Regions from separate parts of the Homo sapiens genome. Here region 2 is linked to region 1. The links are contacts of gene promoters, found by promoter capture Hi-C in blood cells and fetal thymus (Javierre and others, 2016). All regions are on one chromosome and are shown on one strand. Each heading gives the region's core, a stretch centred on a gene start or on the middle of the fragment in contact. The rest is flanking DNA. Distances are from core to core; before and after follow the strand shown. Region 1 holds the start of HTR6 (5-hydroxytryptamine receptor 6). Region 2 overlaps CAPZB (capping actin protein of muscle Z-line subunit beta).

Evidence for each region. Contacts are between HindIII fragments. The CHiCAGO score rates a contact against its expected background, and 5 or more counts as called.
Region 2: a contact is called between a fragment that was not itself captured here and the fragment with the promoter of HTR6 in region 1, in 7 of 17 cell types (naive CD4 T cells, total CD8 T cells, activated CD4 T cells and 4 more). The highest score is 8.1, in naive CD4 T cells.

What each region holds. Positions count from the first base shown.
Region 1 is chr1:19,662,003-19,666,922 of GRCh38, reverse strand. It overlaps HTR6 (5-hydroxytryptamine receptor 6), which reads right to left and starts at 2,048. Exons shown (of 3, transcript NM_000871.3): 1 at 456-2,048. The coding sequence starts at 1,169. RefSeq lists enhancers at 283-1,253, 1,254-2,226 and a silencer at 2,005-2,234. The HindIII fragment of the contact is 8,359 bases long and covers 1-4,920 here.
Region 2 is chr1:19,398,746-19,404,023 of GRCh38, reverse strand. The region is part of intron 2 of CAPZB (capping actin protein of muscle Z-line subunit beta); the gene reads left to right. Among named protein-coding and RNA genes, the nearest start is that of CAPZB, 84 kb to the left of the region's middle. RefSeq lists enhancers at 808-1,485, 2,164-2,843. The HindIII fragment of the contact is 1,299 bases long and covers 1,355-2,653 here.

The sequences.
Region 1 (4,920 bases), core at 799-3,298:
GAAGCAGGGGAGCCAGGAGAAGTCTACACAGCCTCCCCGGTAGGAAGTGGCAGGGGAGATGGCACCTGTTTAGAGCAGCGCCAACAGGTCTCGCTAATGAATGGCATGAGGGTGAGGGAGAAAAGTATTCCTAAGTTCCTGGCATGTGATGCCGCAATGGTGCCATTTGCCATGATGGGGAAGACCAGGGAGGCAAAGATGGGGAGAGTTGGGCCACCATAAATTCCCTGTTGTACATGGTACCTGGGAGAAGCCTGCCCCCAAATCCTGACGGAGCTATCCTGTGGTGGGTGGGTCAGGCATTGGCTCTGGAGTTCAGAAGAAAGGTGGGCGCTCACAACAGCCACGCAGGGCCATGAGCAAATGTGTGCTAAGTGGGGATGCCCAGGGGGTCCCCAGGGGCTGCTCATTCCTCTCTATCCCACAGCCCGGGTCTCCCTGCGCACCCCAGGTACCTGCAGCGTCTCCGAGGCCTGACTGGCCATGCCGGTGGTGAGGGAGGCCACCTGCACGGCCTGCTTGCGGGCAGCTAGCAGGATCCTGCAGTAGGTGAAGCATATGGCACCCGAGGGCAGGAAGAAGGTGAGGCCCGACGCCACAAGGACAAAAGGCAGGCTGGCCAGCAGGCGGCACTGGCCAGGGACGGGTGGCCGTGCGTGGCCCAGCTCGTGCCAGCCCAGCAGCAGGGGCAGGAAGGAGGCGAGAGCGGCGAGGCTCCAGGCGCCCAGGACTAGGGCCAGGGCACGCAGGGGCGTCATGCGCAGCTTGTAGCGCAGCGGCGAGAGGATGAGCAGGTAGCGGTCCAGGCTGATGAGGCAGAGGTTGAGGATGGAGGCGCTGCAGCACATCACGTCGAAGGCGGTCCAGAGCAGGCAGAGGCCGCGCGCCAGCACCCAGCGCCCGTACAGCGCGTTCAGCATGGCCGGCGGCATCACCACCAGCCCCACCATCAGGTCAGACGTGAAGAGCGACACCAGGAAGAAGTTGGACGTGTTGCGCAGCGCGGGCTGAGTGCAGATGAGCGCGATCAGCAGCGAGTTGGCCGCCGCCGTCAGCGCGATGACCACGCACAGCGCGGCCGCCACCCAGCCGCTGCCCCCCGGGGCCGACGGCGGCCCTGCCCCCCAGGCCGGGGTGCTATTGGCGGTTGGGCCCGGCTCTGGGACCATGAGGACCGAGGGTGGACGGCAAGGGAGTGATAGGGTGGCGGGAAAGCAGATGAGGGCCCCGGCGAAGCGCAGGCTGGACGGGGACCGTCCGTGAGAACAGACCGCGACTCACCACGCCCCCCGGGGGAGGTGAGTGGGGGGACATGGGCGGGGGCGCTGGGTCGCGCTAGGTCAGGGGGCAGCGACTACAGGAGGACACAGTGTGGCTATTTGGGCGCCCTCGGGGATGGGGCAGGAACTCCTGGAGCAAACGGGTTGGAAGTTTGGGGAGGGGCACCCGATGAGCCGAGGCCCCTGAAGGAAGCGGCGGGAAGTCAAGCAGAGGTCGGATGGGCTCCCTGGGGTGGGAGCAGAGCCCCCTGGAGGGGGCGGGCGGCAAGATAGGGGAGGGGCGTCCGGCCGGGTCAGAGTGCGGGGAAGTGGGAACGCGGGGAGGTGGGTGAGGGGGGTGAATGGGCGCTCTCGGGCCGGAGCAGGCTCCCCGCGGCCGGTGGGCGTGTGGGGTACCAGGGCGGGGGCCTAGGGGCCGGAGCAAAGCCGCCCCTGGGAAAGGCAGGTCTCAGCTGGCGCGGAGGCACCGGGATCCGGCGCACACGGCCTGTGCGGCGCGGGGGTTCGCCGGGGCCGCCAGGCCCCGCGGGAAGAGGAGGGCAGCGGCCGCGCGGCGCCCCCTCCCCACCCGGCAGCAGGGTCGCCTCCGTCTCCCGCCCGCACTGGTACCTGGGGCGCTCTGGCTGCTCCGCCGCCTGCGACTGCGGCAAGCGCCGCGGGGCTGCGAGAGGAAGAGGCGGCCGCGGGCCGGGCGGGCGGCGGGACCGGGTCTCCCGAGCCCGGGAGGCGCCGCGAGGGGCCCGCACGCGCGGAGGAGAGGCCGGGTGCAGCCTGGAGCGCGCGGTCCCCGCGCCGCGGAGCGTGCGCCCCGCCTCGCGGTGGGCGGGGAGAGCCGAGCCCTGGCCCTGCAGGAGGGCGGGGTCCCGGCACCCCGGGCCTGTGGGCCGAAGATCAGAGCGCCCCAGCTGCGAGGGGTCACCTCCCGGGCTGTGGCAGCCCCCACACCCTCAGATGCCCCTCCCAACCCACACGTGGCGGCGGCGCAGGCGGAACTGGGAGCAGGGGGCTGTGACCTGCCCTTATCCAGGGGCTGCTCTCTAATGGGTGCCTGCCCACTCACAACGGGGTCACCGGGCTTTCAGGGGAGCCAGGAGTTGGGAAATATTGGACAAATCGCCTGACACCCCTCTGGGCCTCAGTTGCCATATCTGTAAAATGGGTTAGTAATTCTGGGCATTCTTCACCGTTAGTTTGAGCAAGAAGCTAACCTTCCCCAGGGCCTTTCCCGCAGAAACCATCCCGATCCCCAAAGGGGCCAGGTACTAAGGATGAAGTCCCTGAGCTGTTGGCGCTCCTAGTCTAACAGAGCGTGAACAGATTTGAGAATCCCCAGGCCAGGTGTGTTAAGAGTCGCTGCAGGCAGAGGCGTGGGGTGTGGTTTCCCCTGGGTGTGACCTCCCTCTGTACGTCTCCCCTCTGGCTGAGAAGAGTCTCTGCCTAACACTGCTGTGCAGGTTAATACTGTTATTCATTCATTCATTGAACAGATACTTCAATGCATCTTTTAAGGCGCATCCACTAGATGTCAGGCACTGTTCTGACCCATCAGGACACTACAGTGGCCAAAACAAAGATCCGCACCTCCATGGAGCTTACATTCTAGTGGAAGAAACAGACAATAAACAATAAGCATAATCAACAGAGAAAGTGGGCCCAGCGAGGTGGCTCACGCCTGTAATCCCAGCACTTTGGGAGGCGGAGGTGGGCAGATCACCTGAGGTCAGGAGTTCGAGACCAGCCTGACCAACATGGTAAAACCCCGTCTCTATCAAAAATACAAAAATTAGCTGGGCGTGGTGGCGGGAGCCTGTAATCCCAGCTATTCGGGAGGCTGAGGCAGGAGAATTGCTTGAACCTGGGAGGCAGAGGTTCCAGTGAGCCAAGATTGTGCCACTGCACACTCCAGCCTGGGTGACAGAGCAAGACTCTGTCAAAAAAAAAAAAAAAAAAAAAAAAAAAAAGGAAAGAAAGAAAGAGAGAAAGGAAAGAAAGAGAAAGAAAGAAGAGAAAGAGAAAAAGAAAATGTAGTATAAAGAGAACGGGGTGGGATCATTTTTTCTCCACAGAAACAGAAAAATAATACTTTCCAAATCGAAGGCTCCTGCGCTGTCCCCAGGGGCTTTGTTGTACGGTTCCTACTCCTCCAGTTATTTATTCCGACCCCTACAATAATGCTGAGAGGTAGACGTTAAACTGGGGTTCAGAGAGGCCAAGGGCCTTGCCCCAGATCACCAGCAGCAAGTGGTGAAGTGGACCTGAAACCCAGATCTGCTCGATGCCCATGGCAAAGAGAGCCCATTACAGATGGTCAAAAACCTCCCCTCAGGCACCTCAGAGCCTGCAGCACCCACCCGCCAACTCTAAGCTGCTATTTGGTGCTCAGAGCCCCAGCCTTGCCCACAGAAGCATCTTTTAAGCAGATAGAGGAGGCCTGTCCTTCCTCCTTGCCACCACACTGCACCACTGTGACGATTTCTGCCATGCCCCCAAGGAACAGAACGTAGTACAGCAAGCCTGGGCAGAGAGTCAGAAACACATGGCTTGGGATCCCCGCTCCATCCCAGCTCTGGGATTACAGGGCCAGTGGCTCCATCTCCTTGGGTCACAGCTTTCTCTTCTGTAATAGTTAGCAGAACAATATGGCACCCACCTCACAGAGTAGCTGAGGGGATTAAATGACACTGATGTAATCTGTGTCTTTGATACTATGTTAACACTAGCTGGCCGGGCACAGTGGCTCACGCCTGTAATCCCAACACTTTGGGAGGCCAAGGCGGGCAGATCACCTGAGGTCAGGAGTTCGAGACCAGCCTGGTCAATATGATGAAACCCCGTCTCTACTAAAAATACAAAATTAGCCAGGTGTAGTGATGCACGCCCATAATCCCAGCTACTCAGGAGGCTGAGGCAGGAGAATCACTTGAACCCACAAGGCAGAGGTTGCAGTGAGCTGAGATCACACCACTGCACTCTAGCCTGGGCAAAAACAGCGAAACTCCATCTAAAAAAAAAAAAAACAAAAAAACAAAAAAACAAAAAAAAAACCTAGCTCTTGGCTTTAGTGTTCCCATCAGCACAATCGTAATGCATTCAGCTCTGTGCTAACTCCTTGAGCCCAGGGATTTCTGACGTGAACAGCTGCAACCCTGAGAGGTGCTGTGTGGAAGGATTTTGGAGCCCAGCATCCTGGGTTCATCATCCAGAGTCTGCCACTTGCTCTGTGAAGTTGTGCAAAGCCTCTTAAATTCTCTGCTGCTATGAAACCAAGGCAGTGGAGCTGTGAATGAGATGAGTAAAAAATTTTGCCTGATAAATGTTGCTTTGTAAAAATCTGTAGGTAGTGCATAGAATATTAGTCTTTCTGCTTTCACTTTTCCCACAATACTTGATATCTTTTATTTTAAAAAAAAGACCTAAAGATTAGCTGAGCGTGGTGGTGCACGACTCTAGTTTCAGCTACTTGTGAGACTGAGGTGAGAGGATTGCTTGAGGCCAAGTGTTCAAGGCTGCAGTGAGCTATGATCACACGTGTGAATAGCCACTGAACTTCAGCCTCGGTGACAGTGTCTCAAACAAACAAACTAACTAAAGAAAACCTGGCAATAACTTTAACATTTGTTCATTCTGGGTGATGGATCCG
Region 2 (5,278 bases), core at 755-3,254, 260 kb after region 1:
CGACCTCAAGTGATGCCACCGTGCCCGGCCTACTACTGTTACCTCTTGTACTTCAACCTCTTGAGTCTTGATGCTGCAGGCGTTAAGTAGGGCATGTGACAGGGAGGAACTGCGGCTGGAGTCCAGGAGGGAGGCAGGCAGAAGGGGCACTGGGTGCAGCTCAGGCTGCTGAAGGCCAGTGGAGATGTAGTTCCACCTGCCCAAAGCGGGGTCACTTTTTTACAGAGTGCCATCCACCTTATCCAGCCTGTTGGGTGAAGGTATGTCCCAATCCTCATTTTAGAGCAGTTCAATGAATGTTTATTGCTACTGCTCCTCCCTGCATTACTGGAGTGTTATAATAGCCTGTAGACAGGCCTTCCTGCCTGTCATCCCCTGCCTGCTCTGCATACAGAGTAGTCTTGCCAAAATGCACTTCGGATAATGTCCCTTAATGACTCCACATTGTCGGGATCAAGCCCGGAGAACACATCTAGGTGGAAGAGCTCTTGATCTGGCCCTGCCCCTTCCTCCTGTCTCCTTGTCTTGCACACTCCCAGGCCTGTGCCCTGTCTTGTTGCATCTTTGTACATGCCGTTTCCTTGACTGGGACACATGTCCACACCAACTCTGCTCCCTCTAACTGCTCATCTTCCCATCTCCGCTGGAGCCTCACTTCCCTCACCCTGCCCCCCAGCATGCCCCTTGCTTCTCCTGTCTCTTGGACTTGCTCCATCCTAGGAGCTTTGGCTCTTGGAGGGCAGGGATCTTTTCTTTTGTTCACCTTTGTATCCCCACTGTCAAGCCTGAAGCGGACATTCAGTGAGTGCATGCCTACTTGAGCCCCCATGAATGCAAGGCCCTGCCTAAGCTGAAGCACCAGGGTCAGAGTGACAACAGAATAGTTGTGTCTTTAAAGAGCTCATAGCCACGGTGGGAGCCAGATAACCCAGGATGGATAGAATGCAAGGCTTCTTTTTTTTTGTTTTGTTTTAGAGATGGAGTTTTGTTCTTGTTGCCCAGGCTGGAGTGTGATGGCACAATCTTGGCTCACTGCAACCTCTGCCTCCCTGGTTCAAGCAATTCTCCTGCCTCAGCCTCCCAAGTAGCTGGGATTACAGGTGCCTGCCACCACCCCCAGCTAATTTTTTGTATTTTTAGTAGAGATGGAGTTTCACCATGTTGGCCATGCTGGTCTCGAACTCCTGACCTCAGGTGATCTACCCGCCTCGGCCTTCCAAAGTGCTGGGATTACAGAGGTGAGCCACCGCTCCCAGCCAGAATGCAAGGCTTCTGATGTGAGGAACATGGGCACTGCAGAGCACCACAGAGGACACCGTGGCCCACCCTTGGCAGGCAAATCCCAGGGAAAGCTTAGAGTGGGCAGAGCCTGAGATACAGCTGGTGGGTGGTGGGAAGGTACTAGCTGGGCAGGGACTGAGCAGGAGCAGCTGGGTTTCTGCCTGATTAGATAGAGCGTGTGAATTGGTGTCTAGTGAGCTTTGAGTTTTGATTCAGGCCACATGGGTCCCTTACCAGAAAGCAGGTGATGGGCGCACACTCTGGTTTTGCTGAGGATCAGCTGTTAGCTCCCACTCAGACTTTCTAGATGGGTAAGGGACAGAGATCAGCAGGTTCCCTGCAATTTTAAGATCGTAACTGAGAAATGTGCCCTTGTAAGCCTGTTGATCCAAGAGCCTGCCTGCCTCTAGAAAAGCCCACATCAGTCCTTTCCTAGGAGGCAGTGGCCTTGTTGCCTCTGTTGAGACAAAGTTCTTTATTGACCTCACAGGGAGCTGGGACTTTCTGAATCAGACCATTCAGGTGTTCTCTCAGTTCCTGTTGATTCCTTCGCAGCCCTGGTGGGAACAGCTGCTGCTCTTGAGGGAACCTAAAGTAAACTCCTGGCTTGCCATTTTCCTGAACTCGTAGATTTTGGCAGAGGAGAAGGGTGGAGAGTCCAGGCCTTTGTTCCTGATCCTGTCACCCTTATGAGTTAAGATTTGGCAACCCTTCTCATAACTGCTGGGGGCATAGGGTATCCTCAAAAGTAGAGTTAAATTACTGGTTTAAAGAGTCTGTGCTCCAAACTCCAGTGAACTTCATGATACAGAAAGCAAAGAATTGAAGGGTATTAGCTGTTTGGGGAAAACCACTGCTCCCACCACCTGGAAGCCAAATAAGCAGATGTCCCCTCTGGGTGGAGCAGGGGGCCAACATCACTTTCTTATGTTATTATAGGTCGTCAGCCTATGTGTAGGCCATTTCAGTCTCATTGGAAATACCTGGAAAAATGCCTGGACTTGGAAAAATGCAAACAAAAAACACAGCACGTAGCTCTAAAGGGGTTGTTTAGTCCTCCCCTGAATTCTGTTTCTGCCTTAAAACACCAGAAGAGCTTTGGCTGTGTGCCATCTGCAGGAAGCACCCTAGGAAGGAGAGGATCCACCCTGGCTTCTCCCAGGCTAGGTGGTCCTTCGTTTTTCACCTTTTTAAAAGGCTCACCTGAGGCTGCTGAAAAGGTGGCAAAAGACAGGACTGCATGCTTCATTCCCAGCAAGAGTGTCAGGCAAAATTCGAACTCCTTGATCACCCATTGGTTTCCACATTCTTTCCATTCCGGAGACCAAGGGGAGATTTGCCGATGCTGATGCTCCCTGGGCTTTGCAAAGCTTTCCCTAATTAAAGTCCTCCCGGCTGTGTGCATAGCTCTTCTGCTGCAAATCTTTGCCCTTTTGTGTTTGTGTTTAAAATTCCATCTTTCCAAAATGTTTGCCCACTCAGCAAGTCTCCTTGAAAGCCCTCACTTTTGTTTGGGGGAAGTTTTTTTTTTTTCCTTTTTGGTTTTTATTCTGCCTATGTGTAGGAAATTTAAGTCTCTTAGGAATTGCTTGTGAAAATGCTCTCTGGTCTTTTTTTAAACCATGATGAGTGTCTCTCACCATGGCATTGGAAGCTGGCAAGGGATGCCCCTGGTGTCCGTGCTGTTAGCTGCCACTTGAGCTTTTAGATGGAGCTACTGGAGTATCATTTTGGTTCCATTCTAAGGAAAATGAACAAAAGAGCTTTTCCCTCCTGTTCAATGTGCAACAGTGCTACAAGGTGAGAGAAGTATGTTAGCGAGGAATCTGAACCAGGTCAGGATCGGGGCAAGGTGGTAGGAGGCTGAGCTCTCCAGTGGTGAAAAAGATGGCTCTTGTCACCTAGAGCCAGGAGGCATAATTCAAGTGAAGTGCATATAGGCCCGTTCCTTGGCCTTGTCCTCATAGGATTTTTTTTCCTACAAGATCTATCCAGGTCCTTCATTTGGGGAACCTTATGGACTCCTGTTGTTGTTGGAAGCCGGAGAACAGTGTTTGGAGAGCTTCCATTGAGGATGGTCTGAAGACTCTCACTTTAAGTTAGATCCTGCCCTCTGGTTGATGAGAAATGTGAGACGTAAAAGTGAATTGGAGAGAGATCCCACTTCCCCACGTGCCAGAAAAGGCAGACAACAACTCCCTCCTCAGAGCTGTTAGAAAGCCAACATCTCGCGGTTGGCAGGCACTGGCCCTGGATGAGGAATTCCTGGGTCGCCCCCCTTAGAACATGTCTGGTTTTGGAAACAGGTTAAAAATACTTGAGGAGGGCATGGCACGCTCAGTCTGCTTCCCTGATGTTTGAAATAGGCCAGGAATGTGGGCCGGGAAGCCCAGAGGAGCCTGCGTGTCCCGCAGGGTTTTGTAGTTGGAGCCTGGGGTTTCTCCTCTCCATCATCACCCCCTTTAACTGCCAGTGACCACATGCCAGATTCATGAAGGGCACACTGAAATTGACGAAGACCTGTGCCATGGGTAGCGGGAAAAACTGGGCTCCCTTTAGTAAGCAGGATGGTGTTGAGGTCTCGGAGGCAGGCAAGGGGTGGGCTCGGAATCTCTCCTGGAAGAGAAAAGAGAAGGGAATTTGGATTCTGTATACAAATATAGAAATTCCCTAAGAGTTTAAATTTGAACATGGCATTCAGGGGAGAAGATTATGGGTTCCAAGCCTTTTCCTTCTTCCCCTTCTTGTGAATAACTCACTCAGCTGCTTGCATCTGTGTCCTAAGGCTGTGAACCGAAGAGCTGGGCAGTCCACAGTTGGTTTGAGCCTCAGAGTACCTTGCTTAGTAAAGGTTTGTTTTAGGAGGGATGACACAAACTTTTGAGTAACTCTCAAGTCTTGAACTATGAAACTTCGTAGGATGTCAACACTAAAATGAACCTTACCGATTATCTCATCTAGTGGTTTTCAAACATTTGGAAAATTGGTACAGCCCTTTTTTTAAGCAAAATCTTAGAACTTGAATAAACCAGGTAGAAGGTGGTAGGCCCAGACTTCCTCTCCCACTCTTGACACCCTGAGCTCCTCCCTCTGTACTCACAGCCCTCAAAGTGCTCCTCTCTCAGAGAACCATCCATTGCAGAGACCAGGGAGCTGTGGCCCATGCCCCATGTAGCACCGTTTCATGGCAGAACCAGCTCTGACTTCCAGGCCAGTGGCAAGTCCCTGCAGTACCTTGGTTTATTTTGATGTAGGAAAAGCTCTGGGTAGTAAGAGTGAAGAGTCAAACAGCTACGACTGAGAGTGAGGAGAAAGACAACACTGCCCATGGTTCCTGACACCCAGGGTCACTTTTTACCAACCTAACTCTGGGTCACATGACGTACTCGTATTCTGAAACTGTTGGTTTCCTGGATGTCTACCTGTGATGTCTTGGATCCATGTGGTTCTCTCTGCCTAAAATATCCTCTCTTGATTCACCTTCTTAACAACAGCTTTCTGGAGATATAATTCACATAACATAACATTTACACTTTTAAAGTGTACGGTCCAATGGTTTTTAGCACACGCAAGAGTTGTGCAGCTAGCTGGGCATGGTGGCTCATGCCTGTAATCCCAGCACTTCGGGAGGGCAAGACAGGCGGATCACTTGAGTCCAGGAGTTCAAGACCAGCCTGACCAACATGGTGAAACCCTGTCTCTACTAAAAAATAAAAAAATTAGCCAAGCATGGTGGCAAGCACCTGTAGTCCCAGCTACTCGGGAGGCTGAGGCAGGAGACTTGCTTGAACCTGGGAGGCGGAGGTTGCGGTACTCGAGATCGCTCCATTGCACTGCAGCCTGGGTGACAAAAAAAAAAAAAAAGAGTTGTGCAGCTATCAGCATTCGGCATCCCACGCTGTCTGCCTTTGACAGACAGAGATGCTCTCTGTCTGCACCTTAGTCCTTGGGCTGCTTTGCGACCTGCCCTAACTGCCAGCCCTGCCTCACTTTCTGT